2 separate regions of the Homo sapiens genome follow, and region 1 is linked to region 2. The links are contacts of gene promoters, found by promoter capture Hi-C in blood cells and fetal thymus (Javierre and others, 2016). All regions are on one chromosome and are shown on one strand. The core of a region is centred on a gene start or on the middle of the fragment in contact, and the rest is flanking DNA. Distances in the headings are between cores, read along the strand shown. Region 1 has its middle 110 kb from the start of C1GALT1C1. Region 2 holds the start of LAMP2 (lysosomal associated membrane protein 2).

Region 1 (5,162 bases), core at 276-2,775, 270 kb after region 2:
ACAGGCATGTGCCACCACGCTTGGCTAATTTTTGTATTTTTAGTAGAGATGGGGTTTTACCATGTTGGTCAGGCTGGTCTCAAACTCCTAACCTCAGGCAATCCACCCACCTCGGCCTCCCAAAGTGCTGGAATTACAGGCGTGAGCCACCGCACCCAGCCGGAAGTTTATTCTCTTAACTGGAGCTCAAGACTTCAAGACCAGTCTGGGCAATATGGCTAAACCTGGTCTCCACAAAAAAATACCAAAGGTATCCAGGTGTGGTGGTGAATGCCTGTAGTCCCAGCTACTTGGGAGGCTGAGGTGGGAGGATTGCTTGAGCCTGGGAGGTGGAGGTTGCAGTGAGCCAGGATCGCACCACTGCACTCCAGCTTGGGTGACACAGCAAGATCATGTCTCAAAAAAAAAATACATAAGGATGGTTAAGAATGTAATTTGACAAAAAGAATGTAATGTGATTGCTGTAAAAAATCATAATTAGCCTTACATCTCAAATATGTGGAAGGTATGTAAAGAAATAATATTATTGCTTTTTCCTCTGTCACTGGCTAGGTTTCTGGGAATGATCAGTGGCCCTGGATCACCCAGAGTCCATGCACCACACTTTGAGAAACAGTGCGTAAGGGAAAAGTATATGCTATGCTTTAAACACATTTATTAATACATTAAGTTTGATTCTATTTAAATTGGTTGAACTTTATTATACTTGATCATGAAGTTTCTATCATGGGTAAAAAATTATGACAAAATAGATGCTTTTTACTGATAGTTTGGCATCTTCCTTAATAATAGACCTGTAGCCAGGGTGAGGATGTCCAGCTAGGTACTTACGTACATTTTCCAGCCCGCTTTGTGGTCTGGTGTGGCTCTGAGACCAGTGAAATGTAAGTAGGAGTGATGTGTGCTTTTTCTAGGCCCAGCTCTTTAAACTTTGCACATGTGCTTCTCTTTACTTTTTTCCTCTAACAGAAGAAATATGGATGTGCCCATAGCACACATTACTCAGCTTTGAAACTGGCAGATAAGGCTGTTGCCTTACAGAAGGGCAGAGAAACATGAAGGAATCAACCCAAGTCCATGAGTGACTGAATGAGTTGAGTAGGCCACCTATGTGCTCTGGACTGTCAAGTGGAGAGAAACTTGACAAGTGGTGAGTTCTTTGACTCCCTGTACTATTGGGTTTTTATATTATAGAGGCTTAGCCCTTTAAGCCTGATAAAGCCAGGGAAACTTGGAGGTCTGAAAGCTCCGATTGGTAGCTTGTGGGGAAGAGTGGCTCTTGGTGGCACAGGACAGGTGGGAAGGAAAAGGGAGTCAGGATTTGGCACAAGACTACCAACCATGGTAGGTGGGTATGGCAAGTGCGTGTCCAGTTGATTTCTAAGGATGATTTTGGTGGTACTGCCAGGTAGGGGAGATAAGAAATAAGGAATAAGCTTGGTTGTGAGTCATACAGAAGTGTAGTTTTCTTATGAGAAAGAATAACTGAGTCAGGGGAAATGGTACCACTTAGTCATCCAGTTTAGGATTAGAGAGAAATGAAATCAAGGGAGCCACATCAGGCATAGGTCATCTCTGGGTCACCTCATGCAGGATCCAGGGAAGTGACACTTCTAAGCTTCCTGAAGGGTCCCTGGGGCTCTTGCTACTTTTCCTACTTTAGTCATGATTAGCATAAAAACTGTGGTGGAACTGTGGTGGCTTCATTAGTGGCTTCAGCTGTAAAGACTTGAAGCTGGAACAAATCAGAGATAAATCTTATTTACCTCACTTATTTACCTTTCATCTACATATGATTTAGTGCCTCAGCCACTGCTAGGGTACCTTTCTGTAAACTGGAAAAAGTGCTCCTTTTTGGGTTGGGGGCATGGCCTAGCAAGCACATGTATCAAACTAGGAAAGGAAAGCATTACTTGGTGAGTACAGTGCAGTATGGATTTCAGCCCCCATTCACCTCCATGACTGGGTATCCTTTGTGCAGTGAACAACATGCACAACTGTACATGGTGGCCTTGCAGACTACCAGAGGCACAGTGAGCATGAAGAGTGAAGTTGGAGAGTAAAGAAACAATTCAAATGTAACCTGCTGGCCAGAGGTACTTATAGGAAAGGCAAAAGAGAAGCAAAAGGTGAAGGGTGATTTAAGAACAGTTTTAAACTTAATATCTGAAGGGCCATCCCCAAATAGACAATATACTTTCTTGTATCTTTACCTTTGCTCATGCTGTTCCTCATCTGAAGTATCCTCTCTGGTTATATGATTCCTACACATACTCCAAAGCTTACTTCTAGACTTAACCTTTCCAAAAAGCCTTCCGTGAACTCTGTAGCTTACAAAGATCCCTCCCTCCCTCTTTACACTAAACTCTGACCATACTGCACTTAAGTTTCTGCCTTACATCATGCTCAGTGATTAGCTGGCCTGCTTTCCTTTTTGGCTGATTACTTCGTTTCTGAAACCATCTCTTGTGCCCCCCCCCCCAATAGCTATGGGAGTTTATTGAACTTAGTATTTATACATCAGTCTCTCCTCAGTGGATTCTAAGCTCTGTCAAGGCAGGGACTGTGGGTTTTAAAAAAATTTCTATCCCCAGCCAGCACAGGGCTCAACAAGTGTTTGTTGAATAAACAAATGGGCAATCCATGCTCAAAAAGATGTCTATTTGTTTGAGTGACCGAGAGCCTGGAAAATTTCTTCTCCAGTCCCAAACTATGTTTTTATTCAGGGAACCTCCGCTAAGCTCCCCACAGCAGGGTATGGGGACCACTTGTGACCAATTAACTTAAAATCTTTCCCCTGTTCAGACACTATTTTAACAAATCCTTGCAGTAGAAAGAGCACTGTGCTCATTGGGTGGTTCTAGTTCAGTTCTGATACTAACTAGCCATGTGACTTTGAGCAAATTGAAATCACCTGCCTGGCCAGCCTTAGTTTCCTATACTGTAAAATGAAAAAGTAGCTTTAATAGTCTGCAATGTTGTAAAGCAACATGATAAACAATGTGGTAATTGAGCTGAACTGTGAAAATATATTCATATCCATGGTAATACCTAACTCCTATCCTAGCTCAGCTTGAAGCAATTTTTCTTCGGCAGTGAAACATTCATAAGATGTTTTATGCGCCCCATGACCAATAAACAGCTGTAGGAAACTTGGGGAAAATATAACTCTCCCTCTTGGCCTGTATAATTTTACTGTTGTTGTTGTTGTTAATGGGCAGCCACCACTTCTTCTCTCTCCTTCATGGGGCTTATTTGTTCATTCTATTTAGGGTTGGCAGGTTCATCAAATAAAAGTGCAATATGATTCCTTCATATTTGTTCAGCACTTCACAGGTTATGAGGAAGCAGGTTAATGTATTAGAATGCAGAATGGCAGAAATAGCCTTGCTATCTAAAGTGTGTCCCCCCAACTGATAGCATTAGCATTACCTTGGAGCTTCTTAGAAATTCAAACTCTGAATCCCACCCCAAACCTACTGAGTCAGAATCTGCATTTTAACAAGACCTGCAGGTGATCATGTGTACACTAAAATTTGAGAAGCCCTGGGCTAGTTCTAACTGCCTCCTCCATTTGCTCAACAGCTGTCCCTAAACTCTGGAGTAGGAAAAAGGGAGTAGAGTTGCCCAAAATATGAACTCTTCAATTGGCTCCTTCCTATATTGTAGGGACTATCACACATGTGGTGGTCTTACAGGGCAGTGCATAATAAACAGCAGATAATGTTAAGTTTTCTGTCAGGGCCATCTGCTCAAACAAAGTCAGAAACCACATCCAAAAAGAAACCACATCTGTAGTATGATGAAGGCACTATGTCTAGGCAAGGCTGGACCTGAGTCAAGTTGTCATCTCTGCCTGGTTGGGATATCTATGCCTGTGAATATTCTTGAACTCTCCCTTTTGGCTACAATTCTTCACTACAAGGTTCTCTCCCTTTTTCTTTCAGATACTGAGTGTCCTCCTCAACCAAAGTGAACATTTAGAAAGGCATGTACTCTACTGTAACATTAAGTACAGTAGGTGTTTCTCCTCACCTGGGCTCTATATTCTCAGTTCTTTGCAAACATCCTCTTAAAGGGATTTCATTCCCCCAAGTAGCTATTGGAATAGGGTATTTTGGAAGGGTCTGGGTCACATACTCCACCTAAGAATAAAGCCAGCTCTGCTTCTAGGCTCTCAGCCTCAGCCTTACCCATATTCTCAAATCTCTCCACTCGCTCAGCCTCTCATACAGTTGCCCTTCCTGCCTTCACAAGTCTCTGTCTCTTTCCACTTCTCTCCTCCCAATTCGGGTCAGGCTAGACTGAGGATGGCTAGACCTTAGAGATCGGCCAGAAATACAGAGACACGGAAGTGATCTGCAGATGTCAATGAAACCAGAATAGTAAGAAATCCAGAGAAGGAGGCATAGTGTGATACCAGTTGGTCTGATAAGAGGGGACTAGGAACTGGGATTCAGAGGCAAGAAAGACTTTAGTTCTCATGAGAATTAGGGAGTCAGTCTCAGCTCTGGGAACCTGACATGCTGACCAGGGATCTAGCAGAAAGGGAGAGTCATGACTGGGCACGGGTAATTGGCAAGAAACCAGGGACTGGACAGAGGTTCTGAGGTCAGAAAAGGGCCAGAAGCTGGGATAGATTTGGACCTATGGCTGGGGTTGGTGGCTCCAGGAGTGAAGGCTAGAGTCCTGTGCTGAAGTTCCACCATTTGTTTTATTCATTTGAGATATAGATTTCGCTTTATAGAGTGGAGGTTAAGAATGTTGGCTCTGGAGCTAGATGGCTGGGGTTCAATTCTGTCTTCATCTCTTACCAGAGGTTTGACTTTGGTAAGGCTCTTAATCTCCCTGTGCCTCATCTGAGGGATGCTGTGAGGCTCCAATGAGACAATGTATGCTAAATGCTTAGCAAAGCACTGGCCCACAGGACATCCTAGCTAAATGCTATGCATGATGATGGTTAGCCCTCGAACTCCATGCCTCCATTCCTCTACTCCTCAAATTCCCTTCTGGTCACTGGGACATGTTCCCTCTGCTTAAAACAGCTTTTTTCCCTTAACTCCTTTTCATCGTTTAGGCCTCAGTTCAGACCTCAGTTTCCATAGGGGTCCTTTCCCAGATGCTCTTGGAATGGGTGAGGGGTTCTTCCTTGTGCTCCTATA
Region 2 (5,476 bases), core at 2,870-5,369:
AGTGGCTGGGACACAATAGGCATTCAGTAAACGTGTGGAAGGGAGAGGCTCCTACCAGTAACATACACTAAGAATATTTCTGTGAGGTTTTTCCCACCCAGAAAAGCCTCAAACCTAAAAAAAAAAAATTCTGAACCCTAAAAAAACAAACAAACAAACCAAAAAACAGAAGTCAAGCTAGTTATAAGAATCAATAACCACAGAAGAATCCTGAAATCTATGATATCACAAAAGGACCATAATTAGGCAATTATATAAAGAAAGGATTTTCACCCACTATCCACTTTATAACACCTCTAAATCATATAGCTTCTCTTCGGAAAGTTGTCTGGTCAGTTACAATTCATCCAAATAAACACCAGCATAATTTAATCTCTATGAAAAAGACCAATATATAGCCTCTAAGAATCCTTTTCTGTACTTATTCTAAAGCTGCTGTTTTTAAAAGGTTATGGGTGAAGCTGGGATAGAGTTATAAAGTTACAAAGTCAAACTGGCACAGCTAGAGCACTAATGCTAATAAGACTATAAATTTAGGACAGGTCCTCCTTCATTGGCACTCCGTACAGTACCCAGGCACAGTTCTAGCTACATAGTAGGTACTTTACAAATATTTATTGATTTAGCTACATATTAGGTACTTTACAAATATTTATTAAGTTTTCAAAAACCTATTATTGGTATCCATTTTGATATAGAAAAGTAACTTGTGCAAAACCCACCAAGCAACTGCTAAATTCTTGACAGAAAAAGCTATATGGGAGGACTTTGGGCTCCACACTGAACCAAGAGCCATCAGAAAATGCAGCTGTATAGAAAAATGGTTTCTATTTCATCCTGGAACCTCTTAAAAATCAGATCTAGGTACATTATTAATATTTACTTTTCCAAATCCTGCTCTGAACTTGGAGGCGGAGGGAATCAATCTTGGAAATTTTCCAAGAGGAAGAATCTAGTTAGTCCTGATCAATAAATGGCAAACTAGCAGATGAGCTGATGGGTTCTTTTATGTGCTTCTTTTTGCATGTTTATTTTCTGCAGTGAGTAAGCATTGCTTTTGTAAAAACAAAACAAAAAAGCTTTCATTAAAAAACAAAAAAAAATTTAATGACATGAAAGCCAACAAGTAGGACAACTATTATTTTTTTCACTTTCCCAAAACAATAACAGTGTTGTATTTGTGCACAGATTCAATTGGCAGGGAACTACTGATTAACAGATGCCTTGGTCAGATGTGTTCTAGTCACTGATAAGGTACTTTCCATTGTAAACAATCCTTTCTTAGGGTCAGTTGGCCCTCAGTAAGTGCTCCAAGGTACAGTTAAGGCTTCCAATTAAGTATTCAAGCAAAGCCTGCCTCAAGGCCGCCTTTCAGAAGTGCTACAGAAGAGTTTCCTGCGCGCTGTGAACAGTTGGACTACATCAGGGATTCCCAAAGTTTTGGTGTCAGGACCCCTTTACTTTCTTATCCACTGAGGACTTCACAGAGGTTTATGTGAGTCATATGTATTGGTATTTACAGTATTAGAAATTAAAACTGAGAAATGAATAAAATATAAGAACATCAGAGTGGTGAGGTCATCACATGTTACGTAGCCACTGGAAAACTCTGCTGTACACTGGTGAGAGGATGAGAGTGAAAAGGACAAAGGACAAATAACTTCTTTTTTTTTTTTTTTTTTTGAGACAGAGTTTCGCTCATGTTGCCCAGGCTGGAATGCAGTGGCGCAATCTTGGCTCACCGCAACCTCCGCCTCCTGGGTTCAAGCGATTCTCCTGCCTCGGCCTCCCAAGTAGCTGGGATTACAGGCATGTGCCACGACACCGGCTAATTTTTCTATTTTTAGTAGAGACTGGGTTTCACCATGTTGGTCAGGCTGGTCTTGAACTCCTGATCTCAGGTGATCCGCCCGCCTCAGCCTCCCAAAGTGCTGGGATTACAGGCGTGAGCCACTGTGCCCAGCAGAAAAGGACAAATACCTTCTTAACCTTATTCCGAAGTTTTGATTTCACAGACGCATGAAAAGGTCCTCGAGAGTCACTGAATTAGATAATCAAGAACCCTTCCAATACTATGGTTTTCGAGCAGGATTTATCAATGTTGGCACCATTGACATTTTCAGGGAGATGATTCTTTGTTGTCAGGGGCTGCCCTGTGCTTAGTTAGGATGTTTAGCAGCATCCTTGGCCTCTACCCACTAGATGCTAAAAGCAATCCCCCAGTTGTTACAACCAAAAATGTCTCCAGATGTTGCCAAATGTCCCCTGGTTGAGAATCACTATTCCAGGGTGTTGATTTCATTCTACTGAAATGTGAATTACAAAATGTATACCTCTCACTGCTTTCTCAGACCCCTAATATGTCTATTTCTTCCCCACTCCCATCTGGGTCTGTTCTTTATGTTATTTTATTAAGTCACAAATAGCAAGAGCAGGTGGGTAGCAACAAGCACAGCATGAATCAAAGTCAGGAAGAGACACTTTAGTCAAAGTTCACTTTTAGGCATTAAAGTTGTTAGCGACCCACTGCCTATTAGGGCACAACACAATCAGCGAACATTCACCCAGCCATTTATTTATTGATTTATTTATTTTTATTTTTTGAGACAGAGTTTCACTCTTGTCGCCCAGGCTGGAGTGCAATGGCGCAATCTTGGCTCACTGCAACCTCCGCCTTCTGGGTTCAAGCGATTCTCCTGCCTCAGCCGCCCAAGCAGCTGGGATTACAGGCATGTGCCACGACGCCCGGCTAATTTTTGTATTTTTAGTAGAGACGGGGTTTCACCATGTTGGCCAGGCTGGTCTTGAATTCCTGACCTCAGGTGATACACCCACCTCGGCCTCCCAAAGTGCTGGGATTACAGGCATGAGCCACCACGCCCGGCCCCATCCAGCCATTCTTAGGCCCTGGTAACAACCCAATCCTTAGCAAGTTTGTCTACCTGCTCCCTGCACCCCCAAAATATGAGGTAATAGGCTAGCTGTGTGATGGGGAAGAAAGAAAAGAAGAAACTCTGAAGGCAAAGAGGTAGTCTACCAAACTCAAATACTCCACCCCCAAAACCTCACATCTGGGAGGCCCTCCTAACTGAAACGTCTGGGGATTTTTTTGTCAGCGTCTGGCTGGGAGGAAGTAGCAAAACTGGGAGAAAATCGACATCCTCAATACCTCCAAGTCAGATGTGCACTCCCCATCAAAGTTCCCCCTGAACCCCTTAGTCTCCAGAGGTTGGGTCCAAGTTTTCTTTCCTGGAAATTGCCCCAGCTACCTTAGGTTCCTTCGCCCTTAAAACTATGACTACCAAACTCAAACCCAGCATCACTCCTAATCTCTTGAATCATCCTTTCTTCACAGTCTCAAATTCCAACCTTCAAAATGCCCAACCCTGTCACTGCCCCTGCCCCTCAGGCTCTACTGTCCTATCTGTCCCATCTGTCCCCCACCCACACACTTCTCCCAAGCTACTCCAGGCAGGCATGGTCTTCTCTCTTAATTTCCTATCTCACCCCATAGTTTTTCCACCATCTTCAAAACTCTTCCCTGATCTCAGCAAACCAAGACTCTCCTAATTGTCTCTGGCGCCCAAAATCTGCATGTACCACCCTCCTACGCTCACTCCTCAGTGTTTTCCCCAAGTTACTCTTTCCACGCTGACCCTCTCCACGCTTCACTCCTCCCAGCCTACTCCCTCGGCGTCCACCCCCCGTTACCGGCCCCTTCTTACTCTCCTGGGCCCTTCTTCCCCGCCATCCGTCGGTCAGGCCTTCTCTAGGTCACCGCTTGCCTCCCCGGGCCAACCGCCGCCGCCCAGTGTTAGCTGCTGAGCCTCTCAACCCCCTCCCCCTCGGACCAGTCTTTCAGGTTGTAGCTTTGAACTGGTGCCCCGGGCCCAGGCGGACAGACTAATCGGGAGGGCCCGACAACTCACCCAGGACTAGGCAGACCAGAACGAGCCCTGAGCCCGGAACCGGGAAGAGGCGGAAGCACACCATGACCCCGCAGAGCAGGCGGCGACGGCGGCGACGGCGGCGGTACAACAACAGCTGCAACACCAGGGAAAAGGCTCGCTGGACCTGGGTCAAGAGCACTGATGACCACCGACCACAGCCTTGCAAAAGCCAGGAATCGGCGCTTCAGTGCGAGTCATAAGACTAGGGGCGGGGCTCTTTCTTGCTTACAGCCAATCTCCGCGCTTGAAAGCGGCGAGAGGGGTGGTGATGTAGCGGCCGGTGGGCGGGGCGACCACGCCCTGGCTTTTTGGTTCACAGCCCTTCCTATGCTCCTGAGAGATATGCGCGGACGGCATTTTCTTTTTCTTTTTCTTTCTTTTTTTTTTTTTTTTTTAATTTTACTTTAAGTTCTGGGATACATGTGCAGAATGTGCAGCTTTGTTACATAGGTATACATGTGCCATGGTGGTTTACTGCACCTATCAACCCGTCATCTAGGTTTTAAGCCCCACATGCATTAGGTATTTCTCCTAATGCTCTCCCTCCCCTTGGCCCCCACCCCTTGACAGGCCCCCGTGTGTGTTGTTCCCCTCCCTGTGTCCATGTGTTCTCATTGTTCAACTCCCACTTATGAGTGAGAACATGCAGTGTTTTGTTTTCTGTTCCTGTGTTAGTTTGCTAAGGATGATGGCTTCCAGCTTCATCCATGTCCCTGCAAAGGACATGATCTCATTTTTTTATGGCTGCATAGTATTCCATGGCATATATGTGCCACGTTTTCTTTATCTAGTCTATCATTGATGGGCATTTGGGTTGGTTCCAAGTCTTTGCTATTGTAAATAGTGCTGCAATAAACATACGTGTGCATGCGTCAAATGGTATTTCTGGTTCTAGATTTTTGAGGAATCGCCACACTGTCTGCCACAATAGTTGAACTAATTTACACTCCCACCAACAGTGTAAAAGCATTCCTATTTTTCCTCAGCCTCGCCAGCATCTATTGTTTCCTGATTTTTTAATAATCACCATTCTGACTGGCGTGAGATGGTATCTCATTGTGGTTTTGATTTGCCTTTCTCTAATGATCAGTGATAATGAGCTTTTTTTCATGTTTGTTGCTGCATAAATGTCTTTTTTTGAGAAGTGTCTGGTCATATCCTTTGCCCACTTTTTGATGGGGTTGTTTTTTTCTTGTAAATTTGTTTAAGGTCCTTGTAGATTCTGGATATTAGACCTTTGTCAGATGGGTAGATTGCAAAAATTTTCTCCCATTCTGCAGGTTGCCTGTTCACGCTAATGCTAATTTCTTTTGCTGTGCAGAAGTTCTTTTAATTAGATCCCATTTGTCAATTTTGACTTTTGTTGCGATTGCTTTTGGTGTTTTAGCCATGAGGTCTTTGCCCATGCCTATGGCGGACGGTATTTTCTAAGGCTAAGGAGAGAGGAGGAACTTTTGAGGGCCGTAGATAGTAGACTATTTCCGTTTTGGCTCCTTGACAAAGAAGAGAAAAATTTTGCGGGCACA

What was found. Contacts are between HindIII fragments. The CHiCAGO score rates a contact against its expected background, and 5 or more counts as called.
Region 1: a fragment that was not itself captured here is called in contact with the fragment with the promoter of LAMP2 in region 2 in 1 of 17 cell types (fetal thymus); the score reaches 5.1 in fetal thymus.

The regions. Positions count from the first base shown.
Region 1 is chrX:120,735,699-120,740,860 of GRCh38, forward strand. No RefSeq gene overlaps it. Among named protein-coding and RNA genes, the nearest start is that of C1GALT1C1, 110 kb to the left of the region's middle. RefSeq lists an enhancer at 789-1,988. The HindIII fragment of the contact is 182 bases long and covers 1,435-1,616 here.
Region 2 is chrX:120,465,177-120,470,652 of GRCh38, forward strand. LAMP2 (lysosomal associated membrane protein 2) reads right to left here and starts at 4,120. Exons shown (of 9, transcript NM_002294.3): 1 at 3,930-4,120. The coding sequence starts at 3,993. RefSeq lists a silencer at 4,058-4,322. The HindIII fragment of the contact is 7,034 bases long and covers 1,078-5,476 here.